Linked DNA regions of Homo sapiens: region 2 is linked to region 1. Evidence: promoter capture Hi-C in human tissues and cell types (Jung and others, 2019). All regions are on one chromosome and are shown on one strand. The core of a region is centred on a gene start or on the middle of the fragment in contact, and the rest is flanking DNA. Distances in the headings are between cores, read along the strand shown. Region 1 holds the start of ITPKA (inositol-trisphosphate 3-kinase A). Region 2 has its middle 34 kb from the start of PLA2G4E.

Region 1 (5,616 bases), core at 1,403-3,902:
CAACTTCTCCCCTGGCTGGTTAGGAAAAGCCTGCCTGTGACTTTTTCCTCTGCCGGAGTGAGGCTGCCCAGTTTCAATTTCCCTGCTCTGGGCAGGCTGGAGAGGGCTCCTAGGAGGTGAAGGGGACTACGTATGCCCCAGGCAGAGAGGTAGGCAGGCAGGCAGGCAGAAACTTCCTGGGCTCCGGCCTGCCTGGGCCGCGCGTAAGGGGCTGGTAAGCCGGGAGTCCTAGAGTCCGGCCCACGTGCATCCTTCACGGTCAGCCGGACCAGCCTTGCTTCCTGCCTGGGGAAGCCCTAAATTGGCCTGGGCCGGCGCGCTGTGCGGCTCTGGGACCTGCGGCGAGGCAAAGTCCGCCCTGGGCCCTTCCACACGGACTCAGGCAGCCTCTGTCAACAGCCCCTGGCTTATCTGCCGCCGCTGTGGCTGTTTGACTTCGGGGAGGCCCCGGCGGGCCTGGGGGTGGGGAAGGCCTGGAAGCCGCAGCCTTGGAGCTGGAAGGGCCCTCAGCGGCGATTTGCACCGGCTCCCGACGGCTCGGAGGGCGGCGGGGTCGCCCAGGTCCCCGAGGCTTGACCTTAGCCGGGGCGGTCTCTACACCCAGGCTTGGGCCGCAGGACCTCCTCCTAGCGCACTCCCTCTCCCAGGCACTTCGCCGAGTCCCTGCGGGCGGAAGAGGGAAGCGGGACGCGCCCGCGCTTCGCGCCCTTTCGCCTGCACCGGCTCTCAGGTGTCAGAGCTTCCGCGCCCCGGGAGCTGCTGCTCAGGCTTTTCCGAAGAGGCGGGGCGGGGGGCCTCTCACTGCCCCACACTCCACATCCTGGGAAGCCCCGGCATCCGCCCCCCGACCTAGGCAAGGGTTACCCCAGAAACGATCCTGGGTCCGGGGCTGCTCTGACCACCGGGGAAGAAGGGGAAGCGGCAGGCTAGTGACCGAGCCGGCGCACCCAGCACCTGGCGGCGGGGGGTGTTCCTGCTCTGTGAGGCTTTTCCCCTCTGGTGTCACTGACAAACCCCATCGGCCTCCGGGCTTGTGAACCCCTGCAGGTCGCCACAGCTTCCCTGCCTTGTCCCAGCCGATTGTGCGGCGGAGCAGGCGCGCGGCCACAGCTCTCCCCGCCCCGCCGCGCCGACCCGGACTTATGGGCAGGCCCCAGACGCCCGAGGCCGGGGGCGCCCCTCGCCTCTTCCTCGGCCTCAGGGACACTTGCGAAACGTGGATCTAAAGAAAGTCCTTCGCGCTGACCACGGACAGTTATTCAAGGTATTTGGCCTTGGTTAAAACGAGGGGAACAAGGAGGGTGTCCCGGGAGCCGCACATCCCTAAGTGGCGGGCGTCAGGAATGACTTAACAGTGCCCAGGGCTGTGTTTTCCGAGGGTCAGACCTGGTCCCAGAACACCCAGGCTATCAGAGGCAGAGACTAGCAGAGTGATCCTGCCCCCTTGCAGCCTCAGTTTACCGCCCCTCTCTGCCGCGCTCAGGAGCGGCGAGCCGGGAAGATGGGAGGCAGGGCGCGCACTGGGTGGGCTGCGTTCCGCTCCCAGCCAGAGCTCCCAGGCCCACGCCCCTCCCTCCCCTGCGTCCACGCCTCGTGCGGGCGCTGGGAGCAGACGGCAGCGGCTCCCGAGCAGAGCCTGGAGCGCCGCTCCACTCCCACTCAGGAGAGGGAAACCGTGGCAACGGCGGGGGTGCGGCCGCGGCACCGGAGAGGGGGCGGGGGGTAAGGGAAACTCTCCTTCGCCTCTCTCCTTCCGAGGGTTCACCCGGCAAGGCTCAGCCCCTCCGATCCCTCCTGTCCTAACCCACAGCCAACAAGGTCCGCTACCCCCGCTTCGCCCAGTCCCCGCGGCGGGTCGCCTGCTCCTCGCCCCGCTTCTTAGACGCCCCAGGGCCAGCGCCACGACCCGCCGGCGGAGCCGAGGTGAAAGTTGCCCAGGCGAGAGGTCGGCCAGGCGCCTCCCTCTGACCCCCAGATTCCTCCTAAACCGCGAGAACAGGACCTTCCGCTGGAGGGAGCATGGACAGGAGCGGGTCCTCCGGGAGCACCCAGCCAGGTCCCCCGTGCAGCCCCCGCGCCCGGCGCTGGCCCCGCCCCCGCGGCCCGTACCTGACCCACGTCCTCGCCCGCTTCCAGCTGCACGTTGCCGCGGCTCCGGCTCTCACTGTCGCTCAGCAGGTCGTCCTCCGAGTCCTCGAGCAGCGACGAGGAGCCAGTGGAGGAGACCGACGAGGTGGAAAGGCGGCGCGGCTGCTGCAGGTGCGAAGAGCCCGCTGCCGGGAGGCAGTCCCTCTCCCGCTCCGGCGGCCCAGGGCTGGTCGGGGGCACGTCGGGCTCCTCGGCTGTCACGGTCAGCTGAGGGATCACCGGGGCCGGGGGAGCCCGCGGAAGCCCGTTGGGGACCTGTCCCCCACGCCGCTTGGCCCCGCGGGCCCGGGGCTCCCCCGCGGCGGCGGCCGCAGCGACCGCCGCACAGCGCGCCTCGAAGAGCAGGCGCAGCTCCCCGACACTCCGGCGCGGGGCCCGCTCCAGCCCCGGGCTGCAGGGCCTCGCGCCCCCCGGCCGCGCCATGCCCGTTGGGCCCCCGGGCAGGGTCATTTCCCAGTGCCGGCGCCGCCGCTGAGCCCACCAGCCCGCGGCGCGCCGGGGACTGGAGCGGCTCGGCGCCCCCGGCTGGAGACGGCCCCGGGGCGGAGCCTGCGCCGCTGCACGCCCGCGCCCCGCCTCGGCCGCGCCCCCCGCCCACTCCTTCCACTTTCAGAGAAAGCGCGGGCCTCCCAGGGCCCCTGCGAGGGAGAGAAGGCTCTCGGTGACTCCTCGGGGTGGCGGGGAAGTCCAGCCTCCGTAGGCACAAAACCTGGGCCCGGGCCCCGAGGCTTCGCTCCGCCTGCCCTCGGGGAGGTGGGAGGGGCCGCTCCGCGCTGGGGCCTCGCAGCCTTCCCGGGCTTCGCGGCTGGGAGAGATTCCTCCAGGCCGCTCCACAGGCCCTGTCCCCGCGCAGGAGAAGCTGGTCCTACTCTTGGTCCCCTACCCCGTTCCTCGGGTTCCTTTGCGTGTTCATCCCTCCCGGGCAAGGGCTTCAAGTCTCGGGGCCTTTCTCCGGCCCGAGCTCCTGAGCAGAGTTGAAGGCCCCCGGCTTCCCGAAGAAGCCCCACCCCAGGGCGTGCACCCAAGTGGAGACTCTGCCCCAGGGACTAGCTGAGGCTGCTCCCCGCAAGTTCCCCACTTCCCGGCGGGCAGAGAACAAGGTCAGGGGGCGGGGCCTGGATCTGTCCCCATGGCCCAGCCTAGTCCCGGGCTGCATCTCCCCCGCTGCTGGGTGGCAGGAGCTGAGCCCGCCTTCCTCCTCCTCTGTTATAGGAGCTCGGGGCTTGGAGTCCGCCGTGTGGCGTTCAGCAAGTCATTTCACCTCCCTCGACTGCGGATTCTCCCGTTGCTGCGAGAATAAAATAAAAGACTTGAAATCAGGTACACCACACTCTAGATGTGATTTGTAGGCAGTCCCTTTACTCCCTCCGTATATTTCTGCATTTGTACATTTAGAAAAACCTCATCCAACCCACAGAGTTGTGTCTGTAAAACTAGGAAGACAGCACTGATGTTTAAGAGTTTCAGACACTGCAAAGTGCTTATCAGTGTCATTCCATGTGGATCTTCGGCCACTTCCCATGTTGGTAGTCAGCTGACCGACCGGCGAGGCTGCTTTGAGGAGAAGCCACTGTTTCCTATCTTACCATAGTGCCACAGGAGTGAGGGTCCCCCCTCAGGCACTCAGTGTCTGGGGATGGCTGGGGCCCTGGAGACAGAGCAGCCCCAGAAGGATTGCCTTGGATGCTGAGATGGCCGCAGGAGGGGCTTTCCTTCCCTTCTCTCCCCTCAGCCAGGGCTCAGGAATGGCCCAGGAGAAGGAAAGAAGAAGGTTCAGTGGGAAGACGGGAATCTTCGGCAAAGCATAGTGGCTCAGGCTTGTAACCCCAGCACTTTGGGAGGGCAAGGCGGGCAGATTGCTTGATCCCAGGAGTTCGAGACCAGCCTGGGCAACATGGCAAAACCCTGTCTCTACTAAAAATACAGAATATTAGGCAGGTGTGGTGGTGTGCACTTGTAGTCTCAGCTACTCGGGGAGAGGCTGAAGTGGAAGGATCACTTGAGCCTGGGAGGTCGAGGCTGCAGTGAGCTGAGATCACCACCACACTCCACCACCACACTCCACACTCTAGCCTGGGCAACAGAGTGATAACTTGTCTCAAAAAAAAAAAAAAAAAAAAAAAAAAAAGCTGAGTGTGGTGGCATGCACCTGTGGTCCCAGCTACTTAGGAGGCTGAGGTGAGAGGATTATTTGAGCCCAGGAGGTCGAGGCTGCAGAGAGCCATGACATTCCACTGCACTGCAGTCTGGGTGACAAGTCATACGCTATCTCAAAATAAACAAATAGGTGAAGATCCTGGAGAACTGAGGAAGGAAGCAAAATAATGTAAGAAAGAATGGCAATGAGAGAGGCAGGAGAAATAGAGGGAATGAAGGGGTAAGAGGAAGAAGGGCATAGAGGAGTTTGAATACTTGACTACTTCACGGAGAACCTGGGAAATCACATCGCCACCTTCTCTAGGACAACCATCTGGAGGAATCTTGAGTATGTGTGTGAGGGATGTACTCTGCAGCTTGAAGGACCTGGATCACTCGTGTCTCAGACACTCACTCCTCTGCCTCCTTCACAGCTACACTGACCTGCGTCAGGATGTGGGAAGGTGCTGCCCTCAGAGACGGGGCTGGGAGGAAACCCAAGGTGGGGAGAGCCTGCAAGGAACTGCCAGAACTGGAAAGGTAGGGAGGGCAATGAGGGGCGAGAACTTGTCCTGCACTCCTGTCTGTCAGGCGATGGATGGGCAGGGTTGGAGGTATAAGCAGGTTGGGCACTGGGTCTCTGTCCTGGCTGCCAAGAAAAAGGGGCAATTCCTTTTCTTCTTGTATCAGGCACTTGCTCAAGCCTTAGGTCTACTATACCAGCAGCCAGAGAATTGCTCTTTGCTCTACCTGCCCAGGTGTCTCTCATTGGAAAGATGAGCGCAAACCTGGAAATGGATGCTGAACTGAAATCCAATCCCATAGATTCTTAGAGCAGTAAGGGGCCTTATATCCATCTATCCTCCTCATTCACATTACGGAAGTACCAAAGAGGTTAAGTGGCTCCACCAGGGAGGTTAAGGACACACAGCCAGTTGATGGAAAAGGCAGTGTATCCTGGCTAGGTCCCCTGACTTCCTGCGTGCTTGTCGCCCAGGCTCGAGTGCAATGGCGTGATCTCGGCTCACTGCAACCTCTGCTTCCTGGCTTCAAGAGCCTCAGCCTGCTTCTCTAGCCTCAGCCTCCTGAGTAGCTGAGATTACAGGTGCTCGCCACCAGGCCTGGCTAGTTTTTGTATTTTTAGTAGAGACGGGGTTTCACCATGTTGGCCAGGCTGGTCTCAAACTCCTGACCTCAGGTGATCCGCCCACCCAGGCCTCCCAAAGCGCTGGGATTATGGCCATGAGCCACCTCGCTCATGTTCTCAAATTCTTTCATTAACATCTTGTATTTCCTGGCCGGGTGCAATGGCTCACACCTGTAATCCCAGCA
Region 2 (5,616 bases), core at 866-3,365, 560 kb before region 1:
ACCAGGACTGGCCTATCTCAGTGTGTCATCTCCTTGCCACTGGGGATTGCCTCGGGGGGCAGACACCTAACTTGAGCAAGCCCATCTGAGCCCTTCCCTATTAGAAAGATTCCTGTTGAAAAAATTTCTCCCTTGATGTTGGGGTGGCTGAGCCTGGGCTGCCAGGGGCTGTATCCCCACCACTGGAGGAGGGCTGTCTACAGAAAGAGAGAGTGAGGCCAGTGGGTGAAGGGGGACAGAGGAGACAAGGGCAGGACAAACAGCCCTGGCCGCTGCCAATCCCAGGTTCTGTTCTTCTCCAACTTCCCAGAATCTTCCTTGTGTCAAACCTGTGAGTTAGTTCGGCCTCTTGCCCAGCTAGGTGAGGCAGTAAATTGCTTTTTATGCCTCAGCTTGTTCAGTTTGGCTCCTACCTATGACTAAGAGAGTCTTGACTAATCCATTACGCAACTGGGTGGATGGCAGGGCCACTTACTGAAGCAGGTACGGCCAGCGGAGGTGGAGAAAGTGTAAGCTGTGCGAGCCACATCATCCGGGAAGGGGCGGTCGCTCCTCGACGTCAGGAGGATGTCACAACCCTGACGCGGGTGTTTTACATCATCTTTGTCTAGGCTGGGGTGATGACTAGCCCCCAAGGTCACGATACACACTCACTCCCTACTCTGGAGTTCACCTTGAGATTACATTCTTTCTCATTAGTGATCGAATTGACTTCTAAGTCTTGAAGCCTTCAGCCTTTGAGCTCAGACACATTCCTTTCCCTCCTGGACTTCTGCCATCAGCGATAACCAGGAAAGTCCCAGGGATGCTGATTAACATCCCGAGGAAAGGAAATGGGACAACCTCCCGTCTCCAAGACTTTCTGCGGACCCCTCACTGCTTTTTCTCAGGGCCACACGGTGTCAGTGCTGAGACACCGACAAGCCTATGGCGTCGGTGGTGCCCGGCTCCTGTCACGCAGCACTGGTGAGGACACACAGACTCCATGTCGCGCTGGACGATCCGGGTAGCCTGGCCACGCGCCCCCCAGCGTCTGCTGCCTGGCTTGCCCTTTCTCGCCCGGTCTCTGGGAATGAAACCGGGAGGGCTTTGCAGAGCACAACCCGCAGGCTCTGTGCCGGGGCAGGTGGCTTTGCTCACCCACCATCCTCAGGCACATCCCCCAAGGCCGGCCCTGCCAGGGTGGCAGCTCAAAGAGTTTCTGCACCGCATTAGCAGCTGCGCCAGGCCCCCCGCTACTTTTCTCTTCTTTCTGCATTCTGCCCCTGGAGTGGTGGAAATTCTAACTTGGGCCAAGCTCTATCCCCATTTCCGACTCTGTGACGAGGAACTCTTAAGACGGGTAGGGGAGGACAGAAAGGTGCTGAGTCCATCACCCTAATAGCGGATTCTGGAAGGAAAGTTAGGAAAATCCCTCCCCTCACCTTCATGGGATACAAAACAGTCAATATATCTTATTTTTGTAAAAACGATCATTGTTATAACGAGATCATTTTAGACGTTGCGAATATATCTATGATATTCCTATGAATCAGTCCTGGCATTCGCCTAGGTTACTGAAGCAACACTTTCTGTACTGGGCAATTGGGCAGAAAAGACACTAACATTAATTGTGCCCTACTATTTGGCAGGCGTTAGTTCTCGCACTTCTATAAAGTCGGTATCATTATTATCCCTGTTTTACCAAGGAAGAAACTAAGGCTCAGAAAGACTGGATAACTTGCCAATAATACTCTTAAGAGCTGTGGGAGCCCCACCCTCCCACAGCACCCCAGCACCTCCTGGGTGGGTGGGCACCATCCGTTTTTGAATCAGGAACCACTGGAGAGGCACTGAGCCTAGCCTCTCATGTCTTCCTGATGTCACCCAGTATGTCTTCCATGGACCTGGAAGGAGATACACCTGGATCCAGGGCTGAAGGTAATCAGCTCCTTTTGATAAAGCCCCATCTCCCTTTTGTAGAGCAAAATTAAATAGACTTTTGCTCCCTGAAACATAAGTGCAAGTGCCTTGGGCAGATCCTGCTTGTACCTAAGGGTGGTAGCAGCAGCTGCTGTCCCTGGGGTCTTGCCAGGCACGGTCTCTACTCCATGTCCTTTACAACCTGAACCAGTTCATTGAAGAGCCTCAGCTCACTCCGGGGGCAAACATGAAACAATTTTATTTTTTCTACTAACTGTCCCCAGCTATACTCTGTTAAATCCTCCTTTCTTGAATAGAGTCCTCCTAATGATATGAGACCATAACCATTATGATGGTCTCATACATTATCATGTGTAAACAACCTACATTAATTGCTATGTGTATTTTTTTGTATTTGTTAATTTTTTTTTCTTATTCAATTCCTAAAATGGAAGATCTACAGGTGGGTAGAACGCTCACTAAGTAAGTCCTCAGCTTCCAAAACCTAGAGGCACACTATTACCCTACACATTTAGTTAAATGTGCCCAGAGCCAATCTGGACATTTTAATTTAGGCCCCAGTGGGATGGTTCTTCCCATGTGGCTTCAGATCTCTGGTGTGTCCAACAGCCCCTTTCCCTATGTGATCTCCCCACTCTTCTTCCCGTGAAGGGCCTCTCTTATTGGAGAAAATCTTTCCTTATTAAAGATCCTGCCCCTGGAAACTAAGGATGTTTTTTGTTTGTTTTTTTTCTATCTGTAGGCTTTCCCACATTTTAAACAACTATTTTAATGTAACAAAGCTTCCTGACATTTTAACCATACCATGGAAAATGCCTTTTCTTTATGTTTTCTTTTTGCAATAAAAAATAAAAACAAATAATCAGTCCTTTATCCAATGCAATGAACATTACTTTTGTGAATAACCAATGCAAAATGAAACCAACCAAAATTTCACATGATAAACTTTTAGAGAACCACATCTTAAGAATAAAAAAATTGTCCTGGCAAAAATTAGACTTGTAAAGAGATAGCGGCCACAAAGAAAAGGTAAAACCCATCATAAAGGGTATGATTTCATGGTGTGTGGAAAAGACTTGGTCCCAACGAAGATAAGCAGCAAAACTGGAAATTGCTAAGTATTATTCTATTAAAAATAATCAAGAAGATCAAGAAATTAAATTGGCTTAATTGAATTTGCTCCAGAAAATACATTTTTCTCTTTTTCTTTTCTTTAAACTTATGTATACAGCCCACTTTTACCCACCAGATTCTATTCTACTCCCTATTCTACATCTTAGGTATTTTTCATAAAACGTTTTCTAGATAAGACTTTATTAAATTAGGATACTTCTCATAAAAGCATTTAAGCTTAACAGAATGAAGTTAAAATTTCCCCAGGGATGTAAAAAAGGGAGAAGCTCAAACATATACACATCAAAGCCACACATCAGAGCCCAACATTCCAGTCCTCACTGTAGCCTTCTCAGCTTGTTCTGTTTTTCACCATTAAAAGCTGTCGTTACTGGTCAGGTGCGGTGGCTCACGCCTGTGATCCCAACACTTTGGGAGGTGCAGGCAGGCGGATCACTTGAGGTCAGGAGTTCGAGACCAGCTTGGCCAACATGGCAAAACCCCATCTCTACTAAAAATATAAAAATGTGCCTGTAATCCCAGCTACTCGGGATCCTGAGGTAGGAGAATCTCTGGCACCTGGAGGTTGCAGTGAGTTGAGATCATGCCACTGTACTCCAGCCTGGGTGACACAGTGAGACTATGTCTCCAAAAAAAAAAGAAAAAAGCTGTCATTACTTCTGCAAATCTTTCCAGGCCTTGCCTTGCTTTTCTTTCTTTCCTCTGTCTCCTCCTTCCCTCCCTCCTTTTCTCCTTTCCATTTTCCCTTAACTAAATGTGTAGGGTAATAGTGTGCCTCTAGGTTTTGGAAGCTGAGGACTTACTTAGTGAGCGTTCTATCCACCTGTAGATCTTCCATTTTAGGAATTGAATAAGAAAAAAAAACTAACAAATACAAAAAATACACATAGTCCTGTGGAGCCTATTCTAGGAGTGGCCAACTGTGGGGCCACCCAGGGCCTGGCTGGGCAGGGAAGTGGGGAATTTGGCAGGACCAGTGGCCAGGTGCCCTTGAGGGATTCCGGGCACATGGTGCTCAGTGCAAGAATGTTTGTTGGAGCTGTTATTTCAGCTGAGGTTAAAATTCTTTGTTTGGCTTTTATTTTTAATTTGTAGGAGGTGAATTTTACAGGAGACTAAGCTCAACAAGGCCTGGAGACATCCCCTAGAAACATTTTAAAAGGATAAACATTCAGATACTCCCTGACACCAATCTGGAAATGACATGAGGGCTCGTCTCTGCTCCTGCCCCTGTGCCCAAGTCTAATTTTTTTTTTGCCAGATTGCTTTTTTTATCCCCAAGATATGATTCTTTCAAAGTTTACCATGTGAAATGTGAGCTGGTGTTGGTTTTATTTTGCATTGATTATTCACAAAAGTAATTCTCACTGGAAACTGGATAAAGAACTGATAATTTGTGTTTTTTTCAATTGCACAATAAACCATCACCTATCAATATTTAGTCTAATCCAGGTCTCCCTCTCAAATTCTAAAAGTTTACCTCGAATCAGAAGTTATTCTGGGTCTTACACATAACTTTCTCTTTGACTTCAAGGAAGCTTGACTTCAGAGCCCCCTCCCCTGGCACTAAGTTCCTGAGGGTCTGCAGAGAGGGTCCCCTTTCTCACCCTGTCTGCCTGTCTATCTGTCACCATAGTTCCTGGCTTGGAGAAGTCCTGGAGTCAGACCACGGGAGAGAAAAATAACCCAAGCAACAGGAGGGTCTTCAAGGGCAGGAAGAAAGAACAGGAGAGAGGATGTCCCAAGAACAGGGAAAGGAAGCCTGGCTCCTCCCTGCCTGGGCCCCACACACAGTCTACCAGCGAAGCTGCCCTCTCTGCTCACTCTCCAGCGTGCTACCACCTCCACACTCATCCTGGCTCTCAGCCCTGGCCACCACCAGCTGCTCCAGGTCAGATCCCACTGGTCAGCTGCCTCAAAGCAGCGTCCATTCTGGGTCTCACCTGCACAGTGGGGTGGGCAGAGCTATGAGGAAGAGACCTCTTCCAGGTGCCCCCCAGATGCCCCGGACAGGGCAGAGACCTCTGAGTGGCAGTGCCTGGGCATCCTTTCACCTTGACTAAGCACAAAACACATCTACCAAAAGAAATCTTGAACGACCCCATTCTGATCTCTGTATTTATTTTTTAAATTACAATCAAGGTAAGATGTAGAAAAATGAGAATACCGAGGTACACTTGGTTATTCCACTCACTAATCCTCACTAGTTTTCCATTATAGCTTGACCTTCGTATATTTTCTTTTGTGGCTACTATTGCTTAGCAAGTCTAATTTTGTTTTTTTGTTTGTTTGTTTGTTTTTGGGTTTTTTTTTTTTTTTTGCCAGGTTGGTTTTTTATCCCCAAGATACGATTCTTTCAAAGTTTACCACGTGAAATATTAGCTGGTGTTGGTTTTATTTTGCACCGATTATTCACGAACGTAATTCTCACTGGAAACTGGATAAAGAACTGATAATTTGTGTTTTTTTTAATTGCACAATAAACCATCACCTATCAATATTTAGTCTAATCCAGGTCTCCCTCTCACATTCTAAAACTTCACCTTGAATCAGAAATTA

What was found. Contacts are between HindIII fragments. The study calls those that stand out against the background at their distance.
Region 2: a contact is called between a fragment that was not itself captured here and the fragment with the promoter of ITPKA in region 1, in 2 of the 25 tissues and cell types used here (dorsolateral prefrontal cortex and hippocampus).

What each region holds. Positions count from the first base shown.
Region 1 is chr15:41,490,910-41,496,525 of GRCh38, reverse strand. ITPKA (inositol-trisphosphate 3-kinase A) reads right to left here and starts at 2,652. Exons shown (of 7, transcript NM_002220.3): 1 at 2,110-2,652. The coding sequence starts at 2,598. RefSeq lists silencers at 2,033-2,082, 2,193-2,372, 2,393-3,012 and enhancers at 2,749-3,249, 3,250-3,750. The HindIII fragment of the contact is 23,030 bases long and covers 1-5,616 here.
Region 2 is chr15:42,052,522-42,058,137 of GRCh38, reverse strand. No RefSeq gene overlaps it. Among named protein-coding and RNA genes, the nearest start is that of PLA2G4E, 34 kb to the right of the region's middle. The HindIII fragment of the contact is 6,025 bases long and covers 1-5,127 here.